Regions from separate parts of the Homo sapiens genome. Here region 2 is linked to region 1. Evidence: promoter capture Hi-C in 16 types of primary human blood cells and fetal thymus (Javierre and others, 2016). All regions are on one chromosome and are shown on one strand. Each heading gives the region's core, a stretch centred on a gene start or on the middle of the fragment in contact. The rest is flanking DNA. Distances are from core to core; before and after follow the strand shown.

Region 1 (5,356 bases), core at 2,857-5,356:
TGCAGAGCAGGTTCCTCCACTGCCCCACCCCTTAGACACCATGACCCCATCAGGTTAATCCCCTGTTGCCATGGTTATGGAGAGCTTGCAGCTGCCATCTTAGATGTGCTCTTTGGGGAAGCCCATCTAACAGGAGGACATTGGTTTGGGGGTGCACCTCCTGAAGAATGGGTGGGGAAGGCTTTCTCTAGGATCAGATTCAAATAAGTATGTATTGAGTGCCTACTCTGTGCAAGGCACTATGCTAGATCTGGTGCCTAGAAGCCCTGAGAAAGAACTTAAAGAGCTAGGAGGACAGAGGCCCCCAAGCTGATCTGGTGGTGCATCCACGCACCCCCACCCTGGGACTTTGGATGCTCCCATCTCCACCTCCAGTGACTTTTAAAGCCGCTTCGTGCCTTTCCTGTAACGTTGGATCCTCCTTTTCTGTCCCCTGCTGTCTCAAGGCCCCAAGTTAAAGGGTTAAAGCCGCTGGAGCTTGGGGAGAGAACATTGTGGAATGGAAGGGATCATGCCCTTTGTGGAGTCTTTTTTTTTTAATTTAATAAATAAAAGTTGGATTTGAAATTTTGTCCTGGTGAGAAAAGGAGAAGAGGAAGGGTGAAGCGAGGGCCAATGGTTTTTTTTCCTTAGCAAATTGGGGACTACTCATGGGCGAATATTCTATTGTGCACGTTTGCTCACCTATGCTCGCGGTAAAATAGTTTATCGGCCGGGCGTGGTGGCTCACACATGTAATCCCAGCACTTCGGGAAGCCCAGAAGGGCGGATCACCTGAGGTCAGGAGTTCGAGACCATCCTCGCTAACATGATGAAACCCTGTCTGTACTAAAAAATACAAAAATCAGCCGGGCGTGATGGCAGGTGCCTGTAATCCCAGCTGCTTGGGAGGCTGAGGCAGAAGAATCGTGGAACCTGGGAGGTGGAGGTTGCAGTGAGCTGAGATCGCGCCACTGCACTCCAGCGTGGGCTGCAGAGCGAGACTCCGTCTCAAAACAAAACACAAAACAAAATTGTTTCTCGGTCAAATCCTCCAGCGGTGTTCAGTTTTTGGGCGTGCAGTGCTTTCTGCAGAGTTGGGAAGACTCACTGGTTTCTACCCTGGCCCTTTCTGGACTGCACCAACTGACCCTGGTCAGGGCAGTGACGCGACCCGAGCGCGGGCACCGCGGTTGCAGTGCGGACTCCTGCGCGGCCCCAGTCGGGCGGTGGTGCGGCTCCCGGCGGGCAGACTGGGCCTGGCACGTAACCCGCCCCCTGCCCTGGGTCTGCAATCAGTCGTGCCCGCCACGGAGTTAGCCGAAGAACAAAAACCACTCTGTGGCAGCATCCCCGAGCCACAATAGGGCTTTGTGCGGCCCCCGCCCCCCAAGGTTACCCCGCTGGGCTGAGGGGGCTCACAGGCCGCTCCCCCCGGCCTGGGCCCGACTCCCAGCTGCGCCCCGCGTCGGACTGTCCACCGCACGGGTCGCAAGAGGGGCTGCTACGGGTGGGAGGGGGCCGGCGATCCTGGGGGGGCTCGGGTTACGAGCCCCCTCCCCACCCTGACGCCACTCCCGCCCCCGCCCAGGTGCGAAATCTCCTGCCCTCCGGCTGGGCGCGCGACTTCAAAGGCGCTTTGAAGAAATCCGAGTTCCGAAGACTTCTTTAGTGGGCTGGGGGCTGTGACGGAAGAGACCCGGGAGAGGGGGCTGGGGCAGAGGAAAGGCGGGGGGCGCCTTGGAGCTGGTCTGAGCGAGGCGGCGGCCTGGAGTGGAACCCCGGGATCCCGCCTCAACCCCGCCGGGCGGGCTCCTCCGGACCCCCCAGAGTCTGGCCCTCTCGCCTCCCGGTCTCCGCCTGTCCGGTGCCAGCTCCCGCCCGCCGCAGCCTCGCGGTCCTCCCCTCCCCAACCCTTCGGCCCCTTTCATCTTCCCTAGACTCCGCTTGGGGTTTTGCTGGTTTCTGGGAGATAAAAACCGCTTCAAATAGCGGCGGCGCGCTGCCAGGACAAACAGGGCCGGGCGGGCCATGTGCGCCTGGTTACCGGCCCCGGGTCGGGACGCCGGGCTCCAGCGGGCCCGGGAAGGGGTAGCGGGCGGAGCTCCGGGCACCCAGGCTCCGGTGACGACTCCCAAAGTAGGGGGCCCCTTTTAGAAGCGGCCTGCGCGCTCTCTCGGTTCCCGCCCAGGTCGTAGGGAGGGGCCGGCGGAGACCGCCCGCTAAGCGCTCGGAGCCCATAGGGCGTGGGTCACGGTCGCTGCGTTGCCTGGCCAGCCGCGCCCCCTGGTGAAGTTACTGGGTGAGCGCGCCGGGCCTGGACTTGGGCCTTTCTAGAACCCGCAAATGGTGAAAAGCGTTCCACAAACGTTAAATAAGCAGTATGGAGGAGGGGACAGTACTTGTGCCAGGCCAGGGCGGGGGCAGCGGGCGGAACAGCACTGTTCCTTCTCTCCAGTTCACCTTACAGGGTAAGAAGCAGGCACCTAACCGATCATTATAACCTGATGGTGAAAATCGAGGTTTCATCGAAGGATGCAAGTTGCAGGCCGGAGTGATTTTTCCTAGGGGTATCTGGGTTTGGATGGTGTTACGACTAAGGTACAAACGGAAACTATCGTGGGTCCTCAGTGCTCTCCACTAATCTGTCAGTCACCGACTTCCTCTCCCTCAAACCTGCCCACTTCCCCTTCTCAGGGAGGCTTTCCCAGCCAGGTTCCCCAAACCATCCCCAGTGTATACCTTATGTTCTTCAAGCTTTCTGTGACTTCCCAGGTGACGGTGAACTCACATAGGAAATTAAATGGGGCTATGGGAAAAGGTTAGAGCAGGGGTCGCGCCACGGCCCGTCGTGTCGGTGGCCTGTAAAGGAACCGCACAGCCGGAGACGAGCTGAGCAAGCTGAGCTCCGCCTCCTGTCAGATCAGCGGCATTAGATTCTCATAGTAGCGCGAACTCTGTTGTGAACTGCGCACGTGAAGGACCTAGGTTGCCCGCTTTTTATGAGAATCCAACTAATGCCTGATGATCTCAGGTGTAACAGTTTCATCCCCAAACCATTCCCTCCCCCGCTCCCCCTGGAAAAACTGTCTTCCACTAAACCTGGTGCCAAAAAGTTGGGGACCGCTAGGTTAGAGCCTTGCTACTTAAAATGTGGTCTGTGCAGTATCAGCTGGGGATTCTTTGGAACTATAGCCTCTGAGCGCCACCTTAGGAGATGCTCAGGTGATTCCTATGTCCCTTAACAGTTGAGAAGTACTAGATTAGAGGAGATCCACTTGCCTTCTCAGGTGAAGTGCATTTTCAGGAGACTCTGGAGCCCTTTGTTTTCTGACCTGGTAATAACTCTCTTGGGGGGAATTTTTCAGGTGAAAAAGAAGGGCAGACACGGAATCCAGAATACTAGAACTAAATGCCCCCTAGATTATTCAATGAGACTGGTAGCTCTTGGGAGTGGGGACAGCCTTCTACATCTTCAAATCACTTAACATTTGTTAATGAACTCTGACCAAGGTCACCTAGTTGATGGCACAGTTATAGCTATTAACCTCTGACATTTGTTTAGCACTTTAAAATTTATTAAATAGCTTCATTTTATTATTTTGTATGGAAAACAACCATATGAAATAATTAGGACACTGCAAATGAGAAAAGTGAGACTCAAAGAATTCAATGTTTTTTCCAAAGTCTGTAAGAGGGGCCCCCATTCTCTTTCTTTCTTTCCTTTCTTTCTCCCTCTCCCTTCCCTCCCATTTTTTTTTGTTTTGTTTTGTTTTTTGTTTTTTTTTTTTTTTGAGACGGAGTTTCGCTCTTGTTGCCCAGGTTGGATGGAGTGCAGTGGCGCGATCTCTGCTCACTGCAACCTCCGCCTTCCAGGTTCAAGGGATTCTCCTGCCTCAGCCTCCCGAGTAGCTGGGATTACAGGCATGCACCACAATGCCTGGCTGGTTTTGTATTTTTTAGTAGAGATGGGGTTTCTCCATGTTGGTCAGGCTGGTCTCGAAATCCCGACCTCAGGGGATCAGCCCACCTCAGCTTCCCAAAGTGCTGGGATTACAGGCGTGAGCCACCGCGCCCGGCTCTTTCTCTCTGGCTTGCTTGACAGGGTCTCGCTCTTTGACCCAGGCTGGAGTGCAGTGGTGCTATCTTGGATCATTGTAGTCTGGATTCTCCTATCTCAGCCTTCTGAGTAGCTGGACTAAAGACGCTTGCCACCACCACGCTGGCTAACTTTTGAATTTTTTGTAGATACAGGGTCTTGCTATTTTGCCCAAGCTGGTCTTGAACTCCTGGGCTCAAGAGATCAGCCTCGGCCTCCCAAAGTGCTGGGATTACAGGTGTGAGCTACCACACCCAGCCTTACTTTTATTCTTAAGTGAGAATAACTGGTTTGGGTGTATCTAGGTCCAATCTCTCTGTGACTCACTTTCCTCATGGTGACAGAACAGCACCCACCTTATGGGGTTGTAAAGATTATAAAAGCACTTATCGTAACAAGTGCTCAGGAAATAGTTTTGCAGCCCGGCAAGGTGGCTCAGGCCTGTAATCCCAGCAATTTGGGAGGCCAAAGCAGGCAGATCACTTGAGGTCAGGAGTTTGAGACCAGCCTGGCCAACATGGTAAAACCTCGTCTCTACTAAAAATACAAACTTAGCTGGGCGTGGTGAAGCATGCCTGTAATCCCAGCTACTCCAGAGGTTGAGGCAGGATAATCGCTTGAACCGGGGAGGCAGAGGTTGCAGTGAGCTGAGATAGCACCACTGCCTTCATCCTGGGCAATAGAGCGAGACCCTGTCTCTCAAAAAAATAAAATAAAATAAAGTTTTCCTTTTTGAGACGAAGTTTCCCTCTTGTTACCCAGGCTGGAGTGCAATGGTGCGATCTTGGCTCACTGCAACCTCCCCCTCCGGAGTTCAAGAGATTCTCCTGCCTCAGCCTCCCGATTAGCTGGGATTACAGGTGCCCGCCACCACGCCCGACTAATTTTTGTATTTTTAGTATAGATGGGGTTTTCAGCATGTTGGCCAGGCTAGTCTGCGAACTCCTTTCAGATGATCCACCCACCTCGACCTCCCAAAGTGCTGGGATTACAGGCGTGAGCCACCGCGCCTGGCAGGAAATGTTAGTTTTCCAACCGTCCCCACCTCCCTTTCCAGGACGCCTAACCGTGTGGGTGCAGCACTGTTCCTCCTCTCTGAGGCTTTTCCCTCAGCTTTCCAGCCAGCTGCCTGTGACATAGCCTGTATTTTCCTCTGGGTGATCCACAGGCCTGGGAGGATTAATTTGGTACTTCCCTGAATGTGGCTTATTTCGGGCTTTCTAAGCGCTAAGATAGTGAGTGGGAGAAGGTGTTCGGGAATTCGGAGCTGGGAAAAAC
Region 2 (5,288 bases), core at 623-3,122, 270 kb after region 1:
TGGTCACCTTACATACTGCACAGACTGGAGGTTTCTTCCGGAAAACCTTCTCCCGGAAGCTATGAGGCTCAGCTTTCCTAGGCTGAAGGTGGAGGGACAAACAGAGGTGTGAGTTCCCAGTGGGCCCATCTCCATCTCCGGGACTGGGCAGGAGCCTTGCCTTAGCACTGCACTGGTTTTCTCCGTCCAGATCAAGCCCTCAAACTTGTAGGACGCACTTGGCCACAGCTGCTTCAGGGCGGTCATGGGGCCTGTCCTCAACTGTGCATGGAATCTGACCCCTTGCGTCACCTTTGCTGGGTCAGCTCCTCCCCAGGGGATCACTTGGGCCCCTCACATGGCCCTGGTGTGTGATGCCCTTGTGGAAAAGCCTCCATGCTCAGGCTTTCCCCCTGGTGTGGTAAGGGTACTCCCTGACTCTTCCCATCTTGTCCTCCCCGCATGGAGACCTGTGTGCAGAGTGAGCAGGGAGGTTCCAAACATATGTGTTGTATGTCAGTCCTGCAGCACCAGACTGAGCCGGCAGGAGTGGCCTCAGCCAGTCCTGCTCCTTTAGCTCCTGCTGTCCCCACGCTCCAGGCAGCTGACATGCCCTCCTCCCCCACGGTCAGAACAACATGTTTACTCATTGTGCACTGAGGCAGCAGACAGCAATTGTGTAATGGGGGTGGTCATGCTGGAGGGAAACAGATAGAAGCCTGTCACTGGGGAGAGATGTTTAGCTGGCTTTGGATGCTGTGAGTTCTCCCCCGACCCCCTGCACCCTGGCACTTGGGATTCACGCATTGAATGAGAAAGGAGTGGACCAGATTCCCTGTTCAGCCCCTCCTGACCCAGAGATGCAGTGAGGCAGGAGCCTGGGATGCCCCCTTATGGCCCAGGCCTATCTCAGTCCCTTCCCCTCCCACTGTGGGTTCTCTCCTCCCATCCTCTGTCTGGGGACAGCTTGTCTCCTTGCCATCTCTCTGTTTTACCCATATTCCCCCTCCTCTGGAGTTCAGACTCCTGCTGTCCTCCTCCCGGGGACCCATCACAGTAGTATCTCAGGTTGTCCTGAGCTGCTGCTTTTGGGGCAAGGCTGGGAAGTTGGGAAAGGGAGTGATGGGGATGTGGGCAGCACCTCTGGTTTCTTGACTGTCCCTGCAACTCTTCTGGGCTGGATCAACTTTGTGGGACCCACTAAGACACTTGGGAGCATGTTGGCATTAGCAGCAGATATGGATGTTGTCAGTGGAAAGCAAACCTCCAGTTCCAAAGCACTCCTGACTCCCTCTCCTCTCTCTTTTTCCACCCTGCCACCCCATTTCCCTCAAACTTCCCTGGGCCAGGGAAGGGGCCTGATGATCTCTGAGCCTGCTGGAGGATACCTGGATAGCGCATGGCAAAGTCCTGCAGTGAGGCACCTGGGGCTTATGTTGGGGGGCCAGGACCTCCTGGGGTTGGCCCAGGCTAGAGCAGGGAAGGTGAGAGGAGCCAAAACAGACAGCAGGACCTACTCTAACCCAAACATCCCCTCACACTACAGCCCTGGCCACTCCGGAGGGGATGCTGGGCCAGGGAAGAAGGCTGAGGAAGCTGAAATTGGGAAGAAGGCCTGGCCTGATTCCTGGTCCCCTCCCCCACTGCCCGCACCTCCACCCCTGCCCCTCTTTTGCCCAGCTGGTGGGCACTCCTACCCTGCTTGCGGCCCGGCTGCTGTCCCTCCTCCCCAGGGCTCTGAGCAGCCTCTCCACAGGGCCGCTGGACTTCATGGTGTTCGGCTGGCTGGGGTGCTGGCCCCAGGGCCTGAACAATGCTGGGGCCTGGCCCGGGGCTTCCTGGAAGCGGCCTGGCGGAGGCAGCCGCTTCCCCTGGGCGGAGGGTAGGCTGTCTGGCTGGTGTGAGGAGAAGCCCGGCCCTGGAAGTGGAGGGAAGTGCAGGCGGGAAGGGGGCAGGTCGCTGCTCCAGGAAGTGGAGGGGGGAGGATGTGGGGGAGGCCAGGAGATCAGATTCCCAGGATCTACCCTGCTGGGAGTGTCAGCCTGTGATCTTTTGCTCCCCCTACTCCCCCAACTCTGGAGTTGTCCCACACCTGGGACACCACACTCTCCAGGGATCTGCAGGGATCCATGGTCTTGAGATTCTGCCCCCACCCCCGGTGGGGCCGGGTGAGAATTCTGGTCTCGGGGCAGGGCTAAAGGGCAAGTGGGGAACAGTGTGTCCCAGCCAGGCTCCAGCCTGAACTCTCAAGCTCTCGAGGGACTTCCGCTGGGGAGGGAGTGGAGCTGGGAACTACTACCAGCAGGCAGGCCCAGGATCCCGAGTGTGTCCTGAGAGTCAGGTAAAAATGGGACTGGGGGCCCCCTTCCTGTCTCAGTTTCACTCGTTATGAAGTAGGAAAAGGAAAGCATGCACCGCCCACCTTTACCCTCAATACACCTTGCAAGGCCAAGTTCCAGCCACAAGACTGCTTTGCTCAGGTTTGGGGAGTAATCCATTCTCCTGCCACAGCCTAAGGCATATGAGGCCCTTCTCCTGAAAGCCCCCAGGTTTCTGCTCCTGACACAGTGCCCCCCACTCACCCATTCCCTGGCTTTGTTTCAGACATGATCTCACAGATCCCTAGCCCTCTTTCCAGCCCTGCAACTTGGGCTCTCTACCCAAGGGCTGCACCCTCCCCCCGCGGCAACCCCGAAGCCTGAGTACTACCTTCATGGCTCTCCTGGGTCTGCTCTCCTTCCTCAGCAGCTGTCCCAGGGCCTGAGGACTGGACAGGAGGTCCCCCCTCCCAACACATACTCCACCCCCATCCATGGGCCTCCGGCCTCCCTCCTGGGAACATGGCCAACTTCCCGTCCTGGGAGTCAAGGGAGGGAGGTGGATGGGGCCTTGAAAAAGGGGGAGTAATCTTCCTAAAAGCTAAGGGGTTAATGGCCTGGGAGTCTTCAGCCCCAAGCTGTGGACAGCAGCCCCTGGGACAGGCTATAGCTGTCACTTGAAAGAATGTGCAAATGTGCCCCTCTCATTTGCATGGTATTTATTGAATGTCCCAGTACTCAGGCAACTCCCCCAGCCCTGGCTTCTCCCACGGAGTCCCTTCTACTTGCTTCCTGCTCCTTCATATCCACCAGGATGGGTTCCCTGGGATGAAGAATCCTGCATTCTCTGGGGTGAGGCCTGCTGTGGGTGCCCACTTGAGACCCTTGCGAGGACCTGACTGGATTGGGCCTAGCCTGACACCTCTCCCTGGAAGCTCCAATTTTCCAGGCCAAGAAATGTGTCCCCAGGATATCCTGGCCAGAAGGTGGCATCTGTGTGGCAGGCCTGGGCTCCCTGCCTGTAACTGGAGAGGAGCACGGGCTCTGTGACCCACCCCCATCCTGCCAGCCTGGCTGTGTCCCAGCACATTCCAGGCCCCCGGCCAGTGTGGGCAACCGGGCCTGGCCTTGTCGAGCCCCCAGCCCTGCTTGGGGGAGATGGGGCAGTGTGACAAGGTGGGCAGTGGGGGTGGCTTTTTTCTGTCCAGTCCCAGCTTCTGCTCCTATGGCACATGGCCCTGACCAGGACTCCTCTACATGCTTCACTCTCCTGCTGCCTCCATAGGGGCTGAAAGTCCCCTCACCTGGAACAGGTCCCCAGACATCCTCTCACCTTCACTGGTCTCACACTCCCCACCCAGACCCAGCAAGGAGGTGCCCAAGCAGTGAGCTCGGTGAGGGGTGGGGTGGTCAGGATCCACTGTGGCTGTGAGTCCCTCCCATCCTGTGGCACTCGCACCTCGGAAGGGAAGCAGGGATGGGATCCCTATGAGCCAGTCCCGAGGGGAAAAGTAGCTCACTTGAGGAGGGCTGGGAAGGCATCACTAGACCCTCTTGGACCCTCACCCTCCTCCCGCCTGTAACATTCCAGAGCCTGTCAACCTCTCCCCCAGCCGGGCCCCCTCTCTCTCCGAAGTCTTGGGTTTGTTTGGAGAAACCCCTCCACCCACACCCCCCTTTCTGGAAATAGCTGTGGTTGGAAGGGAGGCTGGGAGCCCGGCCGCCGCGGAGGAGGGGTAAGGCCCAGGGAAGGAGCGAGGGAGGGCGGCGGCTCTGGGGGTGTTCCCAGAAGGGTCTGGAGGATGGGGGCAGACTGGAGGGGGCCGCAGAGCGGGGCTGGCGAGTCGAATCAGCCTCATCTGTGCCCGCTTACGGCCTCTGTCCCACATGTGAAGCAGGAAAGGAAAACGTTCGCCCGCACCCTGCCAGGCCGGGGCCCGAGCGCCGCTGCCAGCTGCTGCCGGGTCCCGGGCCTGCGTGTGTGGCACGGCGTGCGGCCCCGTGCGCCCCGGGTGCTGGAAGGCGTGGCGGCCTGATCGAGTAGGGCCGCGGCCGCGCCCCGCCCCCTAGTCACTGTCCCGGCCTCCCGCTGCTCCCAGCTCTCCGCGGCCAGCCAGAGCCCCCGGCCCCAGCCCTGGGCCGCGCCCCGCGCCCCGCGCCCTCTCGACCTCCGGCGGCCCCGCGCCCCCTGGCGCCCGCCCCTGGCACTGCCCGCGCGGCCGTGACGCAGAGACCGCCGCCCGCCCAGCGCGGCGCGGCCACTCACCTGCGGGGGGCGCCCGGCCGGGCGGGGGCGCGGCGGGGCGGGGCAGCAGCAGGGGGAGCCGCCGGGCCAGCCCATCCCGCCCGTGCCCGCGCCGAGCGGACGCGGAGGAGGAGGCGGTGGCAGTGGCGGGAGCGGGCGGCCGGGCTCGGCTGGGCTCCCTCCCGCCCCCGCCGCGCCCCGCGCCCGCGCCCGCGCCCGTGGCAGCCCGCTCCTCCTCCTCCTCCCTCCCGGCTCCAATCCCCACGTTCCGCCAGCTCCCCACCCCTCGGCCTCCTCTCCTCCCCACCTTCTCCCGCGAACCCACACTCACAAAGAGCCGAGGGGAGAGAGGGTGCGCAGACGGCCAGCCGGGCCGCGCCAGGGACATACTGGAGACAGGAAGTGGCTGAGAGGGGGAGAGAGTTGGAGAGAGACGGCCGCGGAGGACACGGGGACGGGAAAGTCTGAGAGACGGGGAGAGCCTGACCCGGCGGGACACAGGCAGAAAGAAACACGCGAGCCAGACAGACGCAGAAGAAACGGTGGGCGTAGGTCTAGAAGGGACTAGGAACAAGGGGACAGGGAACTGCCGCGCAGCGTCAGCCTCTTACCCTCCCCACAGGAGTGTGCCTGGGCTTGGGCCTGACCTGAGAGGACCACCCGTGGCTTAGCCTGGTGGTGCTAGCGTCCCCTACCCAGGCGGGCGCCTGAATCAGGTGAAGACACCTGGTGTTACTTTTGGCCCA

Evidence for each region. Contacts are between HindIII fragments. The CHiCAGO score rates a contact against its expected background, and 5 or more counts as called.
Region 2: the fragment with the promoter of TNS2 here is called in contact with a fragment that was not itself captured in region 1 in 1 of 17 cell types (fetal thymus); the score reaches 6.0 in fetal thymus.

Annotation. Positions count from the first base shown.
Region 1 is chr12:53,321,786-53,327,141 of GRCh38, reverse strand. It overlaps SP7 (Sp7 transcription factor), which reads left to right. Exons shown (of 3, transcript NM_001173467.3): 3 at 1-567. Among named protein-coding and RNA genes, the nearest start is that of AAAS, 2.9 kb to the right of the region's middle. RefSeq lists a silencer at 1,807-2,306 and an enhancer at 2,620-3,353. The HindIII fragment of the contact is 2,736 bases long and covers 2,739-5,356 here.
Region 2 is chr12:53,046,649-53,051,936 of GRCh38, reverse strand. It overlaps TNS2 (tensin 2), which reads right to left and starts at 1,872. Exons shown (of 29, transcript NM_170754.4): 1 at 1,677-1,872; 2 at 1-82. The coding sequence starts at 1,751. The region is part of intron 2 of TNS2-AS1 (TNS2 antisense RNA 1); the gene reads left to right. RefSeq lists enhancers at 2,868-3,711, 3,712-4,556, 5,254-5,288 and silencers at 4,014-4,603, 4,674-4,743. The HindIII fragment of the contact is 14,276 bases long and covers 1-5,288 here.